Regions from separate parts of the Homo sapiens genome. Here region 2 is linked to region 1. Evidence: promoter capture Hi-C in human tissues and cell types (Jung and others, 2019). All regions are on one chromosome and are shown on one strand. The core of a region is centred on a gene start or on the middle of the fragment in contact, and the rest is flanking DNA. Distances in the headings are between cores, read along the strand shown.

The links. Contacts are between HindIII fragments. The study calls those that stand out against the background at their distance.
Region 2: a fragment that was not itself captured here is called in contact with the fragment with the promoter of RASA4 in region 1 in 4 of the 25 tissues and cell types used here (mesenchymal stem cells, neural progenitor cells, spleen and 1 more).

What each region holds. Positions count from the first base shown.
Region 1 is chr7:102,613,602-102,620,224 of GRCh38, reverse strand. It overlaps RASA4 (RAS p21 protein activator 4), which reads left to right and starts at 3,469. Exons shown (of 21, transcript NM_006989.6): 1 at 3,469-3,600. The coding sequence starts at 3,536. RefSeq lists enhancers at 4,166-5,134, 6,104-6,623. The HindIII fragment of the contact is 11,664 bases long and covers 1-6,623 here.
Region 2 is chr7:102,527,238-102,533,495 of GRCh38, reverse strand. No RefSeq gene overlaps it. Among named protein-coding and RNA genes, the nearest start is that of RASA4B, 13 kb to the right of the region's middle. The HindIII fragment of the contact is 8,734 bases long and covers 396-6,258 here.

The DNA.
Region 1 (6,623 bases), core at 2,220-4,719:
CTGAAATGTCTTCTAAATATAACTTTATGTCAGTTTCATCCATTGTTAAATTTAGTATTTCAAAATGCATCACTGCGCATGAAAACAATTCGTAGGTCACATTTTCTCACTTTGGAAGAATCCTAAGATTCTCAAGAATGCATGATGTTGGTAGAGAAGTCAAGGCCAGGAGCAAATCAAATGAGTTACTTGCCCCCAAACCGCTTTGAAAGTTGTTATAAAATTCTTTTCAATTGTTTTATATTGCCAAAATATATTACAAAGTTGGGGTATGGGTGCATTTTTTTTATTCTGGTAAAAAAACACATAAGGTTTACCATCTTAACTATTTTATTTATTTATTGTTATTATTTTGAGACGGAGTCTCACTGTGTCTCCAGCCTGGAGTGCTGTGGTGCCATCTGGTCTCACTGCAAGCTCCGCCTCCTGGGTTCAAGTGATTCTCCTGCCTCAGCCTCCCGAGTAGTGGGACTACAGGTGTGCACCACCACGCCCAGGTAATCTTTGTATTTTTAGTAGAGACGGGGTTTCACCATGTTGGCCAGGATGGTCTCCAACTACTGACCTCAAGTGATCCTCCCGCCTCGGCCTCCCAAAGTGCTGGGATTACAGGTGTGAGCCACCACGCCCGGCCTTATTTCTTTATTTTTTAAAATTTTATCATGTTGCCCAGGCTGGTCTTGAACTCCTGAGCTCAAGTGATCTGCCCGCCTCAGCCTCCCAAAGTGCTGGGATTACAGGCATGAGTCACCACACCCAGCCCATCTTAAGCTTTTTTTTTTTTTGACGAGGTCTCTCTCTGTCGCTCAGGCTGGAGTACAGTGGTGCCATCTCAGCTCACCGCAACCTCCACCTCCCAGGTTCAAGCGATTCTCCCTGCCTCAGCCTCCTGAATAGCTAGGACTACAGGCGTGCACCACCACGCCCAGCTAATTTTTATATTTATAGTAGAGACAGAGTTTCACCATGTTGGCCAGGCTGGTCTCAAACTCCCGACCTCAGGCGATCCACGCACCTCGGCCTCCCAAAGTGCTGGGATTCCAGGCGTGAGCCACCGCCCCTGGCCCATCTTCACTATTTTTAAGTGGACAGCACAGTAGTATTAACTATATGCACATCTCTGGAACTTTTTCACCTTGCAATACTGAAACCCTACACTCAACAAACAACTCGCTTTCCCTGCCCCGCTCCAGCCCCTGAAAACTTCTACTCTCCTTTCTGCTTCTGTGAATTGTACTATTCCAGATACCTCCCATAGGTGGAAGCAACCACTATTTGTCTTTCTTTGTAACTGGCTCATTTCACTTAGCATTATGTCTTCAAGTTTCATCCATCTTTTAGCATGTGTAAGAATTTCCTTCCTTGCTTTTTTTGTTTGTTTGTTTGTTTGTTGAGACTGAGTTTCACTCTTGTCACCCAGGCTAGAGTGCGATGGTGCGAACTTGGCTCACTGCGACCTCTGCCTCCCGGGTTCTCAAGCAATTCTCTTGCCTCAGCCTCCAGAGTAGCTGGGATTACAGGCGCCTGCCACCACGCCCGGCTAATTTTTGTATTTTTAGTAGATATGGGGTTTCGCCATGTTGGCCAGGCTGGTCTCGAACTCCTGACCGCAGGTGATCCACCCACCTCGGCCTCCCAAAGTGCTGGGATTACAGGTGTGAGCCACCACGCCTGGCCTCGTTTTTGTTTTTGTTTTTGGAGACAGAGTTTTGCTCTGTCGCCCACGCTGGAGTGCAGTGGTGCGATCATACCTCACTGCAGCCTCCCCTCCTAGGCTCAAGCAATCTTCCTGCCTCGGCTTTCTGAGTAGCTCGAACTACAGACACACACTACCATGCCTGGCTAATATTTTTATTTTTTGTAGCAAAGGTGGGGGGGGGTCTCATTATGTTGCCCTGGCTGGGCTTGAACTCCTGGCCTCAAGTGATCCTCCCATCTCAAGCCTCCCAAAGTGCTGGGATTATAGGCGTGAGCCGCTGTGCCCAGCCTCAAACACTTTTTCTTTCAACGACATTGACCTATAGTGAATATCAAAAGCATGCACTGAAACTCAAGAGCTGCCTCCTCTCCTGTGCCAGGATGCACTGTAACTTTTGTGAGCCCTAGGCATGTTTGACTTATATGGGTTAAGATATTCAAATACGGCTAGGCACGGTGGCTCACGCCTGTAATCCTAACACTCTGGGAGACCGAAGTGGGCAGCTCACCTGAGGTCAGGTGTTTGAGGCCAGCCTGGCCAACCTGGTGAAACTCCATCTCTACTAAAAATATAGAAATTACCCAGGCGTGGTGGCAGGTCCCTGAAGCTCTGGCTACTCGGGAGGCTGAGGCAGGAGAATGCCTTGAGTCAGGGAGGCAGAGGTTGCAGTGAGCTGAGATTGCGCTACTGCACTCCAGCCTGGGTGATAGAGCGAGACTCCACCCCAAAAAAAAGAAAAAAAAAAAGATATTCAAATGTGTATTTTACAACTGCTTTGGCATAAAGACTGACTGATACCAGTCAGGTCAGATTCATTATTACATATTCATTACTATTATACTCCTGTTTGACTAGGCATGGTGGGCTCACATCTGTGGTCCCAGCCCTTTGGGAGGCCAAGGCAGGAGGATAACTTGAGGCCAGGAGTTCTAGACCAGCCTGGGCAACATAATGAGACCCCCCCATTTCTACTAAAAATAAAAAAAATTAGCCAGTCGTGGTGGTATGCATCTGTAGTCCCAGCTACATGGGAGGCTGAGGTGGTAGGATTGCTTGAACCCAGGAGATTGAGGCTGCAGTGAGCTATGATTGCACCACTGCACTTCAGCCAACAGAGCAAGCCCCTGTTTCAAATGCATGCATACATACATACATACATACATACATACATACATACATACACACACAAACCAACCAATACAAAAAATACATATTTTTTTTCTTCTGATTCTAAAAAACATAAAAACAGCCAGGCACGATGGCTCATGCCTGTATTCCCAGCACTTTGGGAGGCCGAGGTGGGCAGATTACCTGAGGTCAGGAGTTCAAGACCAGCCTGGCCAACATGGTGAAACCCCGTATCTACCGAAAATACAAAAATTAGCTGGGCGTGGTGGCGCGTGTCTGCAATCCCAGCTACTTGGGAGGCTGAGACAGAAGAATTGCTTGAAACCGGGAGGTGGAGGTTGCAGTGTCCCCCACCCGCTCCTCCAGGGGCGCCCCCCTCGAGCCACCGCGCCGGCTGCCCGGCGAGTGTCAGCGCCTCCTCACAGGCCCCGCCCCTCACGCCCCAGACGGCCAATGAGAGCTGCGGCCCCGGCCGGCCCCTCCCCGCCCTGGGGAACCCCGGTCGCGGATTGGCCGGCCCGGGCGCAGTGTCCCCCGCACGTGGGGCGGGGGCGGGGTGAGTGGAGTGGCAGCGAAGCCCCGCCCCCGCCGCCCCGCCCCCGCCCCCGCCTCCTCCCCGGCCCGCCCCACCTGCGGCGCCCAGTCCAGCGCCCGCCGCCCGCCACCCCGGACCCCGGTGTCTGGCTTCCCCCGAGCCGGGACCCCGCGATGGCCAAGCGCAGCTCGCTGTACATCCGCATCGTGGAGGGGAAGAACCTTCCCGCCAAGGACATGTGAGCGCGGCCGGGGGTGGGAGCCCCAACTTTCCGGGGAGGGGCACTGCCCCCCAGGACGCCTGACCTTTCCGGGGTCCACCCACAAGAGCAGCGGAGAGGGTGCGGGAGTGCGGCCGTGGTGGGGGATCGGCGGGGAAAATGGGGACAGTGACATTTTCTGCGAGCACCAGACGGGGTGACAACCGGGGGGCGGGGAAGTGTCACCGAGGGCTGGGGGCTGGGAACTAGGGAGGGGGCGAGAATTTGTCAGCGATCCGCGGCTCACGAGGGGAAGGGGCTTTGATACGACAGGAGCTGGAGCCTGGTGACATGCCAGGGGAGACGTCTTGGTGATCTGCCCCCGGGGTGGGGTTGGAGGGGGTGGGGTGTCCCCCGCAAAGGAAGGGTCTTCCTCAGTAGTTCCAGAGCCCTTAATGCCCCGGAGTGTGCACCTGAAGCACATGCTGGGGCCCAGGGGCTGTCCCCGGGCTTCCTGCTGTGCACTCGGGTAGGAGGGACTGGCATGAAAAGTGAGAACAGGTCAGGAGGCCAGGACAGGTGCAGGACTGTGGGGGAGGGAAGGAGGGTAGTAACTGTCGCTTGTGCCTTGGGCTTTACACCTGAGCCATCCCGTTAATCCTCTCAACCACCCCGAAAGGCAGTTCTCACCGTTCCATTTTACAGATGAGAAAACTGAGGTTCAGAGAAGTGAAATGCTGGCTCCAAGTGGCAGGCAGAGCAGGGTCTTGAGTCTAGGGCTTCTCACAGGCACTGACATCTGGGGATTCCCCTGGTCCCTGGCTCGATTTGGGGAGGTTTCAGGGGCCCCTTGTTCCACTCTTCTCAGTAGGTCCCAGGGCTGAGCTGCCTGACCCCTGGCCCACCATCTTGGTCTTGCCACCACCTTCCTCATGTACAGGGTTTAGGCAGCTCCCTGCTCCTAGAGCCTCAGTTTCCCCTCTTTAAACTAGGGGTTGAAATCCCTCTAGAGGAAGAGGGGGAAAGCTCAAAGGTCAAGGGGCACTGGCTGCCTGGAGGAGGAGGGTGGGAGGGGGAAAAGTGGAGCCTGGAGGAAACAGAGTCCAAAGTCTGCGGAGCTGCAGTTCCCCACCCCTTGGGCGCCCCGGGCTCCTGGATGCAGAGAAGTGGCTAGCATGGGCGAGGGGGTGGAGCAGGGTGGGGGGCAGGCACTCTGCTCACACATATGTGTGGTGGCCCCTGTGAGCTTCCCAGCAAGCTCAGCGCGCCACCACCGAGAGCAGTGCCAGTTCCAGGCCCCCTGGGTCTGATGAGGCCCAGCTCAGCAGTTACCATGACAATGGGGAAGGGAGGGCGGTGGGCATCCCTAGGTGGGTTTCTGTGCTTGGAGGCTTGGAGGGAGGTGGAGTGGGAGCTGGCAGTGAGGTCTGTGGGCTGGGAAGGCAGAGGAGCTCTGAGAAGGGTCTCAGCCTCCAGGCCCAGCCTTTAAGCATCCCCCACCCCCTGCCACCACTGGCACTAGGAACTAGGTCATCTTGGCCTCTTCTGGCTGGTGGCAGCTGGGAGGAGCAGCCCCTCCGTCTGTCGCCTCCCTCCTCATCCCCACAGCAGCTGGCCCTAGTGCCTGGCTCCAGGCTCTCTCCAGCCCAGGGCAGCCAAGCTCTTGGAGTATGCCCACCTGGGAGCCCAGTGCCTGGTTCCCTGCTCAGTGCTTTGCCTCTGGGCAAAGGGGTTCCATCTACAGTGGAGGGGTGCCTTGGGATCTCGATCCTCACCCTGCCCCCCTGCCTGCCCTACTCACGTCTCCTTTGCAACCCCCCATCTTCCCCTGTGGCTTGCATACACAGCTCTGACCTGTCAGCCGCCTCTTAAACCATCCCATAAACAGTCCCTCACATTTGGGCTACTACCCTTCACATCTCTGCTTTCGCCCATGTGTGGGGACTTCTGCCTTCAAGCACTCCACTTCAGTCCTCCAGAAAACTCCTATTCAATGTTCAGGACTCCTCTCAAACTTCTCCTCTCCAGGGCATTCCCTGGTGCACTTGGGCAGAGTTCCTGGCTCCTGGGCTCGCCCCCCAGCACTCTGGGTGGCAGGAGGAAGCCCCTGGTGTGGCAGTTCCTCCGTCAAGTGGTGCCTGTCCCAGCTGACTGTGAGGGCAGGGACTGTGACTCATTCATCCTGGCACCGGGTCCATAGTAGGGAGAATAAGAGGTGTTGAGGACTTCCCCCACTTAATCCTCTTCTTAGCTTTATAAGATAGACATCCTCGGTTTGCACATTGGGAAACTGAGGCTCAGGAAGTGAAAGCCATTTGCCAAGAGGGTAGGTAGAGAAGTCAGGATTCAGATTGCCTTTGCTGCCGACAGGCTGAGAATTCTAGCCTGCCCGCGGCTGTAAGCTTGCGGCTGGGCTCAGTGAGACTGAGCCTCGGAAATCCTATGCAAAGCATTTGGCTGCAGAGTCGGGCAGGGGTTTGGAGATCATGGGAGGCCCTCACTGAGTACTGGAGTTTCACTGTGCCTCACCAGCACCCCGCCTATCTTCTGAGTAGCATCTCCTCCAGCCAGGGCTTGCATACTTCTGAGGACGGGGAGCTTACCACCTCTCATAGTGGCTCATCTTGACTGAGACAGTTCCAAGGAGGAAGCTGTCCTCACACAGCTGCCAGCTGCCTTCCTGCCACTTCTACTCATGGGTTTTTATTCCTCTAAAGGGCACAGAGCGCAGCTGCATTCCCCATCACTGCTAGCTTTCAGAGCCTGCCTGTTCCTGCCCTGCCTCTTCCCACTGTCTCTCGTCCCCACGTACCTAGGCATGAGCCAAGTCTCACGATGACCAGTGACCCACTGCCTCCCACACCAAGTGGCCTTGGGGACTGGCCCAAGGCTATTTTGGGGTTTTCCCTGATCCTCCTCCTTCCACAGCCTAGAAACTGCCAAGGCCCTAAATATAGAGGCCCCGAAAGTAGCCAGACAGGCCAGTGGCAACTGGCTCGGGAAAGGAGAAATGAGAGAGGTGGGCAGCCTAGGGGCCTCAACACTAGCGAAGAAGGAACTGG
Region 2 (6,258 bases), core at 3,513-6,012, 88 kb after region 1:
CCGGCTGATTTTTGTATTTCGGTAGAGACGGGGTTTCACCATGTTGGCCAGGCTGGTCTCGAACTCCCGACCTCAGGTGATCCGCCCGCCTCAGCCTCCCAAATTGCTGGGATTACAGGCGTGAGGCAGCTCGCCCGGCAACCCTCAGCTGCCTCTCATATGTCCTTGGCCCCCTGGCCATCTCTGACCAGACATCTAGGAGGCCCCTCCTGCCAATATGCTTCCCCGACAGCCGAGCCCAAAGCTGTCTCCAGCCCTGCACCTTGTCTTGGTTCCCCGGGTGCTCCCTTTCCCAGGCTGAAGCCTGGACAGCCCCAGGCAACCTCTCTCCCTGACCACAGTACCACCTGGCCACATGCCACACTGCTTTCTACAGCAGACACCGCCTGGCCACAAAGACTTAAGCCACTTCCTTGGGTCCTGCTCAGCGCTGAGCCCAGAGCCCAATCTCAGGGACTGGGAGAGAGCCCAGTACATGGCCAGTGGGATTCTCCCGATGAAAATCCCAGCCATGTGAGTGAGGCTGGCTTCTCCAGGTTCTCTGAGGCCTGTGAGTCCAGGGCTGGCTGGAGGGAAAGCCCCTGGCCCCTTAAAGCCACTGATCATGTTCCCATAGAGGGATCCTGAGAATCCCCTGGGAGAGAAAATGTCGGAGCCCCAGTCCTGGCACCCCCCTGACCAGCTTGGGCCTCAGCCTCCTCATCCATGAAAAGAATGGACAAGAGGGGTCTGGGTGCGGTGGCTCACGCCTGTAATCCCAGCACTTTGGGAGGCCGAGGCAGGTGGATCACGAGGTCAGGAGTTCAAGACCAGCCTGGTCAACATGGCAAAACCCTGTCTCTACTAAAAATACAAAAATTAGCCGGTTGTGGTGGTGCACGCCTGTAGTTGCAGCTATTTAGGAGGCTGAGGCAGGAGGATCACTGGAACCCGAGAGGCAGAAGTTGCAGTGAGCTGAGATTGTGCCACGGCACTCCAGCTTGGGCAACAGAGCCAGACTCCATCTTAAAAAAAAAAAAAAAAGGAGGGACAAGAGGCACCAGAAGCTCCTGTCCAGGTCTGGGCCTCCCTCGGGTCACTCAGTTCTCCCCCATTCATTCATTCATTCACTCACTCACTCACTCACTCATTCCCACACTCTGCAGCCACTGACTTCAGCTAGCCATGCTGGATGCTAAGACATAGAGTCCCGGCCATCAAGGCCAGTCCATCTCAGTGGCATCTAGACATGCACAGAGATGACCAGGGAGCCCCTAAGGGACAGAGAGGCACACCCTGCCTCCTGATCCCATCTGGGGGCTGCATGAAGGAGGGGCACAGGTGTGGCCTTGAAGGCTGGGTAAGGGGCTGGGAGGGCTTTAGGGGCATTCCAGGGGGCAGGCACAGAACTGGAGGCTCTGCCGGGCACACCCACAGGAGAGCAATGGCTGGAGGGTGACATGGACTGCAGGGTGTGGCCGCGGCAGCCCAGCTCTTAAGGGGACAGCCTGGGAAAACAGACTTAGGGACAATGATCTTGAGCCATGAAATGATGTCCAATGCCCCTTGTGCCACCTGACATCAGCCTGATTAATGAACAAACAGAAGAGGAAGCAGGGGACCTGTGTGTCCCTCTCTCTGCTTTTCTGTCTTTCTCTGTGCCCCCTCTCTTATGTCTCTCACGCTGTCTCTTGTCCTTGTTTTTAACTCTGACACGCCGTGGGAACTTGGCTCACTTCCTAGGGGGAAGCTGTCTGGACTGGCCCAGAGATGGGCACCACCATTTCCCAATAAACACAAGATAAAATCAGAGAGCTGGCGTCAGTTCCGCGGCTGGACTCAGTGGGGAAAAGGGCAAAAAGCAGCAGAAATAAGAGCAGGGAAAGAACAGGGGCTGGGTGTGATGGGTCCCATCTGTAATCCCAGCGCTTTGGGAGGCCTAGGTGGGAGGATCGCTTGAGCCCAGAAGTTCAAGACCAGCCTGGGCAACATACGGAGACCCCCATTTCTAAAAAAGTTTTAAAAATTAGCTGGGCATGGTAGTGTGCATCTGTGGTCCCAGCTACTCAGGAGGCCGAGGTGTGAGGATCGCTTGAGCCCAGGAGGTCGAGGCTGCAGTGAGCTATGATTGCATCACTGCACTCCAGCCCGGGCACAGAGCAAGACCCTGAGACCTTGTCAGAAAGAAAGAAAGAGAGAAAGAGAGAGGAGAGGGAGAGGGAGAAAGAAAGGGGGGGGGGGAGAGAGAGAGAGATGAAAGAGAAGGAAGGAAAGAAAGAAAGGAAAGAGGAAGGAAGGAAGGAGAGGGGAAGGAAGGAAGGAGGGGAAGGAAGGAGAGAGAGAGGAAGGAAGGAAGGAGGGAAGGGAAGGAAAGGGGAGGGGAGGGGAGGAGAGGGAGAAAAGAAAGGAAAAAGAACAAGTGGATATCAGGGGACAGAAACCATTCGCAGCCCATCCCTCGGCAGATGCAGAGGGAGTCAGCCTGGAACCCCCACCCCTGCTGGCTGTGCCCCACCGCTGTCTCCACACCCCAGCCCTTCCTCCAGACACCCAGCCGTCCACTGCAGCAGGAGCACAGGTGCCCCAAGGGGACCACTGTTGGAAACCAGGCAGCCCTCCACTCACCCACACAGTGTGTCTCTGCACCCCCTCTTTGACATGGGAGCCGGGGCGCTCTTGGAAATAAGGGTTTACCTGAGGGGTCTGAAGACTTGGGCAGTGGGGGGCTGTGAAGCCTTGGGGAGGGAATCAGCTTGTCCAAGAGTCTGGGGCAGCGAGTGGTCGGGGGCTACCCGGTCTGACCCCATCAAAGTAACCTTCCTGGGGGATATTTCCATTGCAGGGTCACAAAAAGGCAAGGGCTAAGGTTCGAGAGAGGGGTCTCTCTGGGGTCCCAGCCACCCTGCTGTGGGGGCCCTTCCCAAGCAGGACACTCCAGGCAAAGGGGATGGCTTCCCCTTGCTCCCAGGACCCATAGGTGAGGTCCTGGCTGAAATGCAGACTGTCCCCAGATGCCCCTGGGGACTTGTAGGGATTTGGGGGATTCAGTGTTGCAGGAGCTGGAACCCTTGCTTGCTGGACGGGTTTGAGCTGTGCTGTCAGGCCCAAAGCTCCTGGGTCTCCAGGATGGTGCATGAGGGCTCACACCAGCTGCTCCCTGCCACCCTTCCCCCACCTCCCACCCCTTCTCCTGGAGCCCCAGTCCTCTGGTCCTCCAAGCTCAGCTTCAAATGCTTCCACCACTTCTGTCTCTTCTACCTCGAGTGGTTTGTCAACCTCCAAATCACACGGAGTTCAAGAATATCTCAAATATCGACCAGGTGCGGTGTCTCACACCTGTAATGCCAGCACTTTGGGAGGCCGAGGCGGGTAGATCACCTGAGGTCAGGAGTTCGAGACCAGGCTGGCCAACTTGGTGAAACTCTGTCTCTACTAAAAATACAAAAATTAGCCGGGTGTGATGGTGGGTGCCTGTAATCCCATCTACTTGGGAGGCTGAGGCAGGAGAATCTCTTGAACCAGAGAGGTGGAGATTGCAGTGAGCCAAGATTGTGCCACTGCACTCCAGCCTGGGCAACAGAGTGAGACTCTGTCTCAACAACAACAACAACAAAAAGAATATCTCGAATACAAAAATTAGCTGGCCGTGGTAGTTTACACCTGTAATCCGAGCTACTCAGGAGGCTGAGGCAGTAGAATCTCTTGAACCTGGGAGGCAGAGGTTGCACTGAGCTGAGATAGCGCCACTGCACTCCAGCCTGGGTGACAGAGCAAGACGTCATCTCGAAAAAAAAAAAAAAAAAAAAGAGTATATCGAATCCAAAGGAATATCTTGAATACAAAAATTAGCTGGGCATGGTGGCACACGCCTGTAATCCTAGCTACTCAAGAGGTTGAGACAGGAGAATCGCTTGAACCCAGGTGTTGGAGGTTGCACTGAGCTGAGATTGCGCCACTGCACTCCAGCCTGGGTGACAAAGCGAGACTGTGTCTCAAAAAATAAATAAATAAATAAAATACAAAATTAAAAGAAAGATTATCTCCTGGCCACCCATGGTGCAGGCTGTAATCTGTCTCTGCTGGGGTGAAGGGACGGAGGGAGACAGATGAGAAATGAGAACACAGACCTGGAGACCCAGACCACCCATGCCAGCTACCCAGGTCACTTCAGCCCAGCCCAGGGAGCCCCTGCCCAGCACAAGCCTCATGCACAGTAGCAGTGTTAAGATGGGCCCTTGGGCTGGGTGCAGTGGCTCACACCTGTAATCCCAGCACTTTGGGAAGCTGAGGTGGGTGGATCACTTGAGGTCAGGAGTTCGAGACCAGCCTGGCCAACATGGCGAAACCCTCGTCTCTACTAAATATACAAAAATTAACTGGGCGTGGTGGTGAGTGCCTGTAATCCCAGCTATTCGGGAGCCTGAGGCAGGGCAATTGCTTGAACTCGGGAGGCGGAGGTTGCAGTGAGCCGAGATCGCACCACTGTACGACAGAGCAAGACTCCGTCTCAAAAAAACAATAAAAAGAATTGCTGGAGGAGGGAAGTGAGGGGCGGCTGGCGGGGGACTGCTGGGCTGGTGCAGAGGGAGTCAAGGATCCCTAAGAGAGAGGCAGGGGTGTTCAGCTCTCCCACCTCTGCTGGATGAACTTGCAGAGCCTCCTTGGTGACCCAGCCGGTGCAGAGACTCTGCTCAGGACAACACCCTTGCCTGGGACCCCCACATCTCTGGCCCCAGCAGCAGCCCTTGGGGGGGTCCCTTTATCTTCCTCCACTCCTACCCAGGCTTCCTCAGCAGGAGATGAGGCAGGACATTTCCACTCCCTTTCTGGAAGGTTCAGAAGGTTAATGAGAGCTAAGCACGTAAGTCCATTTAGGGGGATGAACTTCTGGGAAGAGAGGAACCTGGGTCTGGGCTGACGTCCAAGGGCGGGCTGGGTGACGGTCCCTCTGATCACGGACCCTGTCCACCCACTGCCCAGGGCCCTGCCTCGACCCCTCTGACCAGCCACCGAGCCCCAGAGGGATCTCCATGAATGTCAGAGACATTGACTGGAGGCCTTATCTCCAGTGGGAGACCCCTTCTCTTCCCACTGTGGGCCGGTTCCAGCCTGGGCTGTCCAGGAAGTGACCTCTCAGGGCCTGGGAAGGGTGTGGCCAGTGGTTCTTGGTTGTACTCAACTCATCTGCCTTGGGTCTAAGGCTGGGGTGAATGGAAGGGCCCACCTGGACCCTGGAGGGACACCAGGCTCATACTAAAATCCCAAAAAGTGAAAAGCTTTCCCCAGGCCCAAGCAGAGAAACTGGACCTTGAAGCTACATCTCTGGACTTAGTCCTCAAAGTAGGAGACATTTGCCTCTAAGCTGTTCTCTCCCACCCCACCTTTCTGTGAGCCGCCGGTTCCCTGTTGTCCACATCAAGCTGTGTGCTGGGCACTGGGTGCAGGAATAGCTTGACCACAGTCTCTATCCTGGGGGTAAAGGGGTGACCAGCCCACAGAGGGATGGACTGCAAACAGACAGTCCCAAAGTGCCATGAGAGAAGCTCTCAGGGCCTGGGCGTGATGGTTCATGCCTGGAATCCCAGCACTTTGGGAGGCCGAGGTGGGTGGATCAGTTGAGGTCAGGAGTTCGAGACCAGCCTGGCCAATAAGGTGAAACTCCATCTCTACTAAAAATAAATAAATAAATAAATAAATAAATAAATAAATAATACAAAAATTAGCCGGGCATGGTGGCATGCACCTGTAAACCCAGCTACTTGGGAGGCTGAGGCAGGAGAATCACTTGAACCCCAGAGGCAGAGGCTGAAGTGAGCCAAGATTACGTCACTGCATTCCAGCCTGGGTGACAGAGCGAGACTCCATCTCAAAAAAAAAAGAAAAAAAAAGAGAGAGAGAGAGACAGAGGCTCTCAGCCTGCAGGAAAGGGCTCTCTCCTTGTTGGCCAAACCAGTGGGCCCTTTAGCTGTGACGGGTGTGCCCTGGGCCCACCAGGACAGGAGCAAGGTCAGGAGGGCTGCTCTGCTCTGCAAAACAGAGGCTGATGGATCTGAAGTTTCTGTTACTGGGAGAATAAAGGGAGGTGAAGGAGACACGTGGTAGGTCCCCTGGGAAGGTGGTGGGAATGCGTGTGAAATGCTCGGAGAGGCACAGTAAGAACCGGCCTGTTTAGAATCCAGTGTTCTACGCCTGCCCCAGGCCCCAGCAATTCTGCTTCTAGACATCTCCCCATGAGAAATGAGCACTGAGCCTCCCAAACATGTCTTTTGGGAGGCCAAG